Linked DNA regions of Homo sapiens: region 2 is linked to region 1. The links are contacts of gene promoters, found by promoter capture Hi-C in human tissues and cell types (Jung and others, 2019). All regions are on one chromosome and are shown on one strand. The core of a region is centred on a gene start or on the middle of the fragment in contact, and the rest is flanking DNA. Distances in the headings are between cores, read along the strand shown. Region 1 holds the start of OVCA2 (OVCA2 serine hydrolase domain containing). Region 2 overlaps CRK (CRK proto-oncogene, adaptor protein).

What was found. Contacts are between HindIII fragments. The study calls those that stand out against the background at their distance.
Region 2: a contact is called between a fragment that was not itself captured here and the fragment with the promoter of OVCA2 in region 1, in 1 of the 25 tissues and cell types used here (lymphoblastoid cells).

The regions. Positions count from the first base shown.
Region 1 is chr17:2,040,772-2,044,992 of GRCh38, forward strand. It overlaps OVCA2 (OVCA2 serine hydrolase domain containing), which reads left to right and starts at 1,251. Exons shown (of 2, transcript NM_080822.3): 1 at 1,251-1,460; 2 at 1,834-2,654. The coding sequence starts at 1,277. The coding sequence ends at 2,333. It overlaps DPH1 (diphthamide biosynthesis 1), which reads left to right. Exons shown (of 13, transcript NM_001383.6): 10 at 332-410; 11 at 710-850; 12 at 997-1,104; 13 at 1,834-3,127. The coding sequence ends at 1,086. RefSeq lists silencers at 754-843, 1,354-1,553 and an enhancer at 1,104-1,163. The HindIII fragment of the contact is 24,727 bases long and covers 1-4,221 here.
Region 2 is chr17:1,444,496-1,448,716 of GRCh38, forward strand. All of the region lies in intron 1 of CRK (CRK proto-oncogene, adaptor protein), which reads right to left. Among named protein-coding and RNA genes, the nearest start is that of CRK, 9.6 kb to the right of the region's middle. The HindIII fragment of the contact is 7,305 bases long and covers 1-4,221 here.

The DNA.
Region 1 (4,221 bases), core at 1-2,500:
TTTGGGGCTCAGAGGCAATGGCAACATCACATTTGTCCTTGTGAGATGAGTTTGAGCGGTGGCTGACACCTGCCCTGTACCAGGTACTAAATGTGGTTCTGGGGATACTATCACCAGTGAGCTGCCCTGGAAAGCTCATTGTCGGCAGAGGAAACAGGAGAAAACACGCAACAATACAGTATTCCAAACAGCAGTGGGTCACTGTCTTTACTTTAGGATTCATAAAGCCTGTTAATGAATGGGTGTGCTGGGGGCACTGTCATGTTCTTCAGCATGCTGCCTGGGCGACGAGGAGGCCCTTCCTAGGGTCTGACCTGGCTTCCCTTCCCAGGTGGGTGCAGGTGGCATGTCCACGTCTCTCCATTGACTGGGGCACAGCCTTCCCCAAGCCGCTGCTGACACCCTATGAGGTAACACCAAGCTCTGGGAGAGAGTGGGCTTTGGACGTGGTTCTCAAAGGTGAGGTCTGGAGTGGAGTGGGGTGGGTGGGCAGCACTTCGTTATGTTCGTAGATTCCGGAGTCTGTCTCGATTTCTCCAGCGGAGTCACTTCCTAGCTGTGTAGCCTTAGGCAAGGCCCTGAACCACACAGTTCCCTTCTGTGGCAGGGGACAGTGTGCCCTTCACAGGCCGTCGTGAGGACTGAATTCAGTAATCCAGGGGCAGAAAAACACTGGCAGATGTTATTGTCCCTCCCTCCCCTCCCCTAGGCGGCCGTGGCTCTGAGGGACATTTCCTGGCAGCAGCCCTACCCGATGGACTTCTACGCTGGCAGCTCCTTGGGGCCCTGGACGGTGAACCACGGCCAGGACCGCCGTCCCCACGCCCCGGGCCGGCCCGCGCGGGGGAAGGTAGGCGGGGGCTTCCAGGAGGGAGGAGAGACCGCGCCTGGGCACTGGCCGCCGCCCTGCGACCGCGACGGGAAACGCACAGGAGCGGAGCGGAGGGAAACGCAGGGTCGCAGGAGCGAGACCCTAACCAAAGTCTGCGACCTCAGGTGCAGGAGGGGTCCGCGCGTCCCCCTTCGGCCGTGGCTTGCGAGGACTGCAGCTGCAGGGACGAGAAGGTGGCGCCGCTGGCTCCTTGACGCGCTCCCGGGCCTCAGGTATCAGCCCCCGCTCTGGGTGCGCCCCGCCTTTTGCCGTTGTCATGGGAACGCCTTGGCGCTCCGAGGCCCGCCCTCGGGGCGGTGCTGACGTTCGGTTCCGCCCCGTGCATTGTGCTTCCGCTCGGGGAAAGACCGCTTCCGGTGCTTCCGTCGCTCCTTGCCGGGCATAATGGCCGCGCAGCGACCCCTGCGGGTCCTGTGCCTGGCGGGCTTCCGGCAGAGCGAGCGGGGCTTCCGTGAGAAGACCGGGGCGCTGAGGAAGGCGCTGCGGGGTCGCGCCGAGCTCGTGTGCCTCAGCGGCCCGCACCCGGTCCCCGACCCCCCGGGCCCCGAGGGCGCCAGATCAGACTTCGGTGAGACAAGCCCCGCTCCGGAAACGCACTCAGTTTCCTCCATCTTGTTTCGTCCCCCTCGACACCCTTCAGCATCCCCCACCCTGCGTCCACCCGCATTCCTCCCACCCAGTCCACACCCTTCATTTCTCGCGACCCATACCCTCTTTGCTCAAACTGCAGCCTGTCCTCCCAGGCTTCCGCCTTCACCGTCTTCCTCCGCTGTCTCCTGTTCAGGCCAATCCACTCATTTCCCCCCTCTCATTTCCCCCAGACTTTTGCCTCGATTCCCTTTTTCTCTCTGTCATCTCGAACCCTCCTGCCCTTTCTCATTTCTTTCCTTCCTGGAGCCTCCCATGCCCTAATCCCATCCTTTTTCCTCATATCGCTGTAGGGTCCTGCCCTCCGGAGGAGCAGCCTCGAGGCTGGTGGTTTTCAGAGCAGGAGGCCGACGTTTTCTCCGCATTGGAAGAGCCCGCCGTCTGCAGGGGCCTGGAGGAATCACTGGGGATGGTGGCACAGGCACTGAACAGGCTGGGGCCTTTTGACGGCCTTCTTGGTTTCAGCCAAGGGGCTGCGCTAGCAGCCCTTGTGTGTGCCCTGGGCCAGGCAGGCGATCCCCGCTTCCCCTTGCCACGGTTTATCCTCTTGGTGTCTGGTTTCTGTCCCCGGGGCATTGGGTTCAAGGAATCCATCCTGCAAAGGCCCTTGTCATTGCCTTCGCTCCATGTTTTTGGGGACACTGACAAAGTCATCCCCTCTCAGGAGAGTGTGCAACTGGCCAGCCAATTTCCCGGAGCCATCACCCTCACCCACTCTGGTGGCCACTTCATTCCAGCAGCTGCACCCCAGCGTCAGGCCTACCTCAAGTTCTTGGACCAGTTTGCAGAGTGAAAGATCAAGAAATGTCTCTGCTCCTACATCCAGCTCCTCTAGGGGCAGCCTCCGTCATCCATGCCCTCCCAGGACCCTCCACTCACTGCTGTGAGTGCGCCTCACCAGAACCAGTTAAGAGACAACTATCAATTCTTGAGACCCAAATTATAAGGGCCCTGCCCTGTACTGAAGAAAAGGGGAGCACAAGGCCTTAATGGACATTGACTTGTGAAAACGCAAACATGAATATGGTTGGAGAGCCCTGGATTAGGAGGGTGACATGGGGAAGGCAGAGGCTGGCACCATGGTGACTGCCACATAATAAAGTGGTGATTTGGATTTTGAGCATCTTTTTCCTGGTACACACAGAAAAACATTTTATAATGGAAGTCGGTTTCTTGGCCATCTACATAGTTTTCTGGGCAGCGCCAAGCAGGGAGGTGTCTCCAGTTGTGAGTCCTCGGACAGGCTGCTGCATGGGTGCACATACTCACGTTATTGGTGGAAGTTTTAAGTCCCAAACTGAAGGGAAGGAGGCCTAGGTGGCACAATCAGGGAGGAATATACATCTGAGAAGTTTTGGGAAGACATCACCTGGCAAGGCTGCCTGAACCACAGTAATTTAGTCTTCCTCTATCCAGATCACTGAGAGTTGTGTGCTGGTCTTCTCTCAAACCCTGGATGTGTTACCTGCTTCTCCCTAAGTGCTCTAACCTCGCTGAACTATGAGCCTGAAGGGTGGGTCGATGCCAGACCTTAGGTGGAGGCCAAAGACAGTACAGAATAAACAGCTTCTTCCTAAATTGACCCCATCTTGAGGGTTTCTGAGATTGATGCCATTCTTTAGTGACTACAGCCAAGGCCTAAGCAATCCAGCTGGTTTTCCCCTTGGGGCGTGTAGTTGTTCTTGGATACTTTGAGGATTGCTCACTCTTTTTTTTTTTTTTTTTGAGACAGGCTCACTCTGTCACCCAGGCTGGAGAGCAGTGGCCAAGATCCTGGCTCACTGCAACCTCAGCCTCCTGGGTTCAAGCAGTTCTGTCTCAGCCTCCTGAGTAGGTGGCGTTACAGGCATGCGCCACCACGCCTGGCTAATTTCTATATTTTTTTGTAGAGATAGGGTTTTGCCACGTTGCCCAGGCTGGTCTCAAAACTCTTTAGCTCAAACAATCCACCTGCCTCAGCCTCCCAAAGTGCTAGGATTATAGGCCTGAGCCACTGCACCTACCTAGGATTGCCCACTCTTTTTTTGTTTTCTTTACTTTTAAAGACAAGGTCTGACTCTATCACCCAGGCTGGAGTGCAGTGGCACAATCTTGACAGCCTCCACCTCCCGGGCTCAAGCCATCCATCCTCCCACCTCAGCCTCCCAAGCAGCTGGGGCTGCAGGCGCAAATCACCATGCCTGGCTAATTTTTGTATTTGTTGTAGAGAAGGGGTCTCACCATGTTGTGCGGATGGTCTCCAACTTGCGAGCTCAAGCAATCCACCTGTCCTGGCCTCCCAAAGTGCTGGAATTAACAGGCGTGAGCCACCTCACCTGGCCAATTGCCCACTCTTAATGAGTTCCCTCCCATTTCCAGTGCCACCTGACACCCCCCACCCCCTGACACACACACACACACTCTTGTTTTCTGACTTCCTGCCTCTGCAAGACAAGAAGCCTGTTCTTTTTCTGGAAGATCACACCAACTCCTGTTTAGCCCTCAGACATAGTTGCCAGGGAGCTAAGCAACTGAGCAGGAATTATGGTCAGGGACACAGCACAAATACTCCAGCCCATTTTTCTGACAACCAGACTAATATCCCTTACATTACCGAAAGTTCTGGGTTCCTCACTACAGAGATTAGCTGTCCAAAATTAAAAAAAACAAAACAAAACAGAATTATCCGCCCAGAGACCTAG
Region 2 (4,221 bases), core at 1,024-3,523, 600 kb before region 1:
GCCTGGGTAACAGAGGGAGAGCCTGTCTCAATTAAAAAAATAAAAAAAGCTGGGCGTGGTGGCTCAGGCCTGTAATCCCAGCACTTTGGGAAGCCGAAGCGGGGGGGGGGATCACCTGAGATCGGGAGTTCGAGAGCAGCCTGACCAACATGGAGAAACCCCGTCTTTACTAAAAAAAAAAATACAAAATTAGCCAGGCGTGAGTCTCATGCCTGTAATCCCAGCTACTTGGGAGGCTGAGGCAGGAGAATCGCTGGAACCCGGGAGGTGGAGGCTGCGGTGAGCTGAGATCGCACCATTGCACTCCAGCCTGGGCAACAAGAGCAGAACTCCATCTCAAAAGAAAAAAAAAAAAAAAAGAATGGCATAGGGGCCAGGCACGATGGCTCATGCCTGTAATCCCAGCACTCTGGGAGGCCGAGGCAGGCGGATCACGAGGTCAGGAGATCCAGACCACCCTGGCTAACATGGTGAAACCCTGTCTCTACTAAAAATACAAAAAATTAGCCGGGCATGGTGGCGGGCGCCTGTAGTCCCAGCTACTCGGGAGGCTGAGGCAGGAGAATGGCATGAACCTGGGAGGCAGAGCTTGCAGTGAGCCAAGATCGCGCCACTGTACTCCAGCCTGGGCGACAGAGCGAGACACCGTCAAAAAAAAAAAAAAATCATTCCACTATTGGAGAGAGGTAATAAGACACAATGTTAACTTTGGAAGCCAATGAAAAGTCCTTCCGGTAGAAAGAGTACTGATGAGTGCCTTCTCTTTCCATCCAAATGAATGATGAGACCATCTGAAGGAGAGCCGTACATTTTTCATATTACCCAAAGTCCACCTGTGGAATTCACAGCTGTCAGCTTAAAACAGTGAACAGCCCAGACTCAGGAATACTGGCTGTCTCTCCAATTTAAGACACTGAAAGGGGTGCGAGTGCCAGGACTGTCCTCTATGGCAAACACTCCTCATGCACCAATAGAAGATGATCGCAAAAGTTCCGAGGGCAGGACTGGAGAGGGGATTTTGGTTATGACTGTAGCAGAGCACGGAGGTGCTATATTCTGGAGATTCTCTTTATTGAGGAGGATCACTGATGGAGAATAATTCCTATTCAAGTCTGGTAGTCAAGGAGATTCATGGCTACCTTGCCTATCACCATTAGGCTAATTCTGGGTGATCTTTCAGGCCTATGGAGAAACTGTTTAGGACAGGGTCAGTGTGAGCGCATAGGGACCTACTTAGCACTGCCTGGTCAAGAAAACTCTAGGGCAGAGTGGTAAGGAGGCCACCTGGGCACCCATGGCTTAGAAATGGTTCTGATCACAGCTGGGTGGAGAAAAGCTCCCTTGCTAAGGTTTACCCAACTACATGCCAAGGTGTTCTATTAGTTGTCCTTTTGGGACAGTGGTTGGCAGGTCAGTGCTCAGTTAAGTGTTGCTAATTTTTATATTTTTAGAAGAGATGGGGTTTCACCATGTTGGCCAGGATGGTCTTGATCTCTTGACCTTGTGATCTGCCTGCCTCGGCCTCCCAAAGTACTGGGATGACAGGCATGAGCCACCGCGCCCAGCCAGATATTATCTTAATAAGCCTAACTCTGAAGTGATGGAAAGAAGCTAAGCACAATGCCTTCCTAGACTGGAGAAGCTCAGAGAAGTTCACAGCATTGTTGGAGATAACACAGCAAGCACAGTGTGGCTGGTGAACAAGGAGAAAGCGGCACGTCTTAGGAAGACAACCTCCCACCCGGCTTTCACCTTCACCTGGATCTATGTTCCTGCTAAAGACAGTTGGAATAACGCACTGTGTCCTGAGATACAACAGAATCGCCATGAGCAACTACGACCATCTGTGAACACTTCCAAGGTACTCTCTCCACTGGAAGAAGGAAGGTAACCACCCCCTGCCAGCCACTGTTACCATAGCAGGCCGAGCGAAATACATTTTGGCGGGGAAAGAACAAATGAGACTACTAAGCCAAGTCGCTCTGAAAGATGAGTGAGAGAAAACTTGGCAGATCATCTGGCGCAAAGGTAGGAAGCAGGTTTAATTCTCTTCTTGGTCAAATGCCACAATAGCGTGAACTGGGCTCACTATGACTTTTTTTTTTTTTTTTTTTGAGGCGGAGTCTCGCTCTTTCGCCTAGGCTGGACTGCAGTGGCGCCATCTCGGCTCACTGCAAGCTCCGCTTCCTGGGTTCACGCCATTCTCCTGCCTCAGCCTCCCGAGCAGCTGGGACTACAGGTGCCCGCCACCACGCCCGGGTTTTTTTTTCTGTATTTCTAGTAGAGACGGGGTTTCACCGTGTTAACCAGGATGGTCTCGATCTCCTGACCTCGTGATCCGCCCGCCTCGGCCTCCCAAAGTGCTGGGATTACAGGCGTGAGCCACCACGCCCGGCCGTGACTTTCTTTTTGTTTGGCAATCCCAATAGACACAGAAACGTAAGCAAAACGCCACGGAAAACCTTTGATGTACTTTACTTATAAATTATTTTTCTATTCTGACACTGTAATAATTTCACAGAGAAATGCCCGTTTCTGTGAACTGCTGGGGGCCATCAAGCTTCATTGATCCAAACTCCAGAAGGAAGGGAGGAGAACAGAACACACATAAGTCCCAGATAAGCCCAAACCTCACCATGGCTGTGTGTTCCGGCTCCTTTTCTCTCTTTCCTCTCCTTCCAACCACAAACAGCCAAAGGCAGGAAATAGAAGGGCGGGAAAGGAAGGAGGCACAGTCAGCCAGTCTAGAGAACAGAAGCAACGACAGGATTCTCATAGCTATCTGGGACTTGGAAAACCTCAATGACTTGTTCTACATCACCCTGTGCTGGATTCTGAACGTGGAGTTAGGAAGTCACACAAACGGAAATCAAAATCAATGCAAGGAGAGGATATCCTTTCAGCTTCTCGGTACCTGCTCAGCCCGTTACTTCTAAGCCTTCCAAGCATTTCAAGCCTCAGGTTACGACCATTTTTACAAGGCCACTCCCTCCCTGAAGGTTTCATGAAGAACACCTGAGGGCTCTGTGGGCTAAAATAGGCCCAATCACTTCTGACGGGTCTACAAGAGCGGGCCAGGCTCTCCTTGATCTCACAGCACTTTCTCTTTTCCTTTTTTTTTTTTTTTTTTTGAGACGGAGTCTCCCTCTGTTGCCCAGGCTGGAGTACAGTGGTGCGATCTCAGCTCACTGCAACCTCTGCCTCCTGCCTCCTGGGTTCAAGCAATTCTCCCTTCCTTAGCCTCTCGAGTAGCTGGGATTACAGGCGCCCACCACCACACCTGGCTAATTCTTGTATTTTTAGGAAAGACAGGGTTTTGCCATGTTGGCCAGGCTGGTCTCGAACTCCTGACCTCAAGTGATCAGCCAGCCTCAGCCTCCCAAAGTGCTGGGATTACAGGCGCGAGCCACCACACCCGGCCCTCTTTTCCCTTTTTTCCTCAATTCTTGCTCCCTCCCTTCCTTCTCTGCCTGTGGTATTTACAGGGGTTGCTTAGATAAATACCCACCAATACAAAACGCTAAAAAGGCCACTGGCTCGGGAGGCTGAGGCAGGAGAATCGCTTGAACCCGGGAGGCGGAACTTGCAGTGAGCAGAGATCGCGCCACTGCACTCCAGCCTGGGCGACAGAAGGCCACTGGTTTCCATCTGAGAAGATATATGGTCTCCTAAGCAAATAGAATGTTCTAAAGATGGTGGGTATGAGGACGGTCCTTTGCAGGTTTGGTGCATTGTGGCTCTCATTTTCTAGCTGTCTGAGTTACCTAACTTCTGTGTGCCTCACCCCCGACTCTGCAAAATGGGGTCAAATACCTATCTAATAAATAAAGTTCCTAAAGTGGCTAGAGGCTGGGCGTGGGGGTTCACGCCTGTAATCCCAGTACTTTGGGTGGCAGAGCCAGGCAAATCACTGAGGTCAGGAGTTCAAGACCAGCCTGATCAACATGGTGAAACCCATCTCTACTAAAAATGCAAAAATTAGCTGGGCATGGTGGTGCACGCCTGTAGTCCCAGCTGCTGGGGAGGCTGAGGCAGGAGAACTGCCTGAACCTGGGAGGCAGAGCTTGCAGTGAGCCGAGAATATGCCATTGCACTCCAGCCTGGGTGAGAGCAAGACTCCATCTCAAAAAAAAAAAAAAAAAAAAAAGAAAAAGTGGCTCGTACATTATAGGTGCTCAATAAAAAGCAACCAATTCTCCAAATTCCTTCAGCAATTTTCAA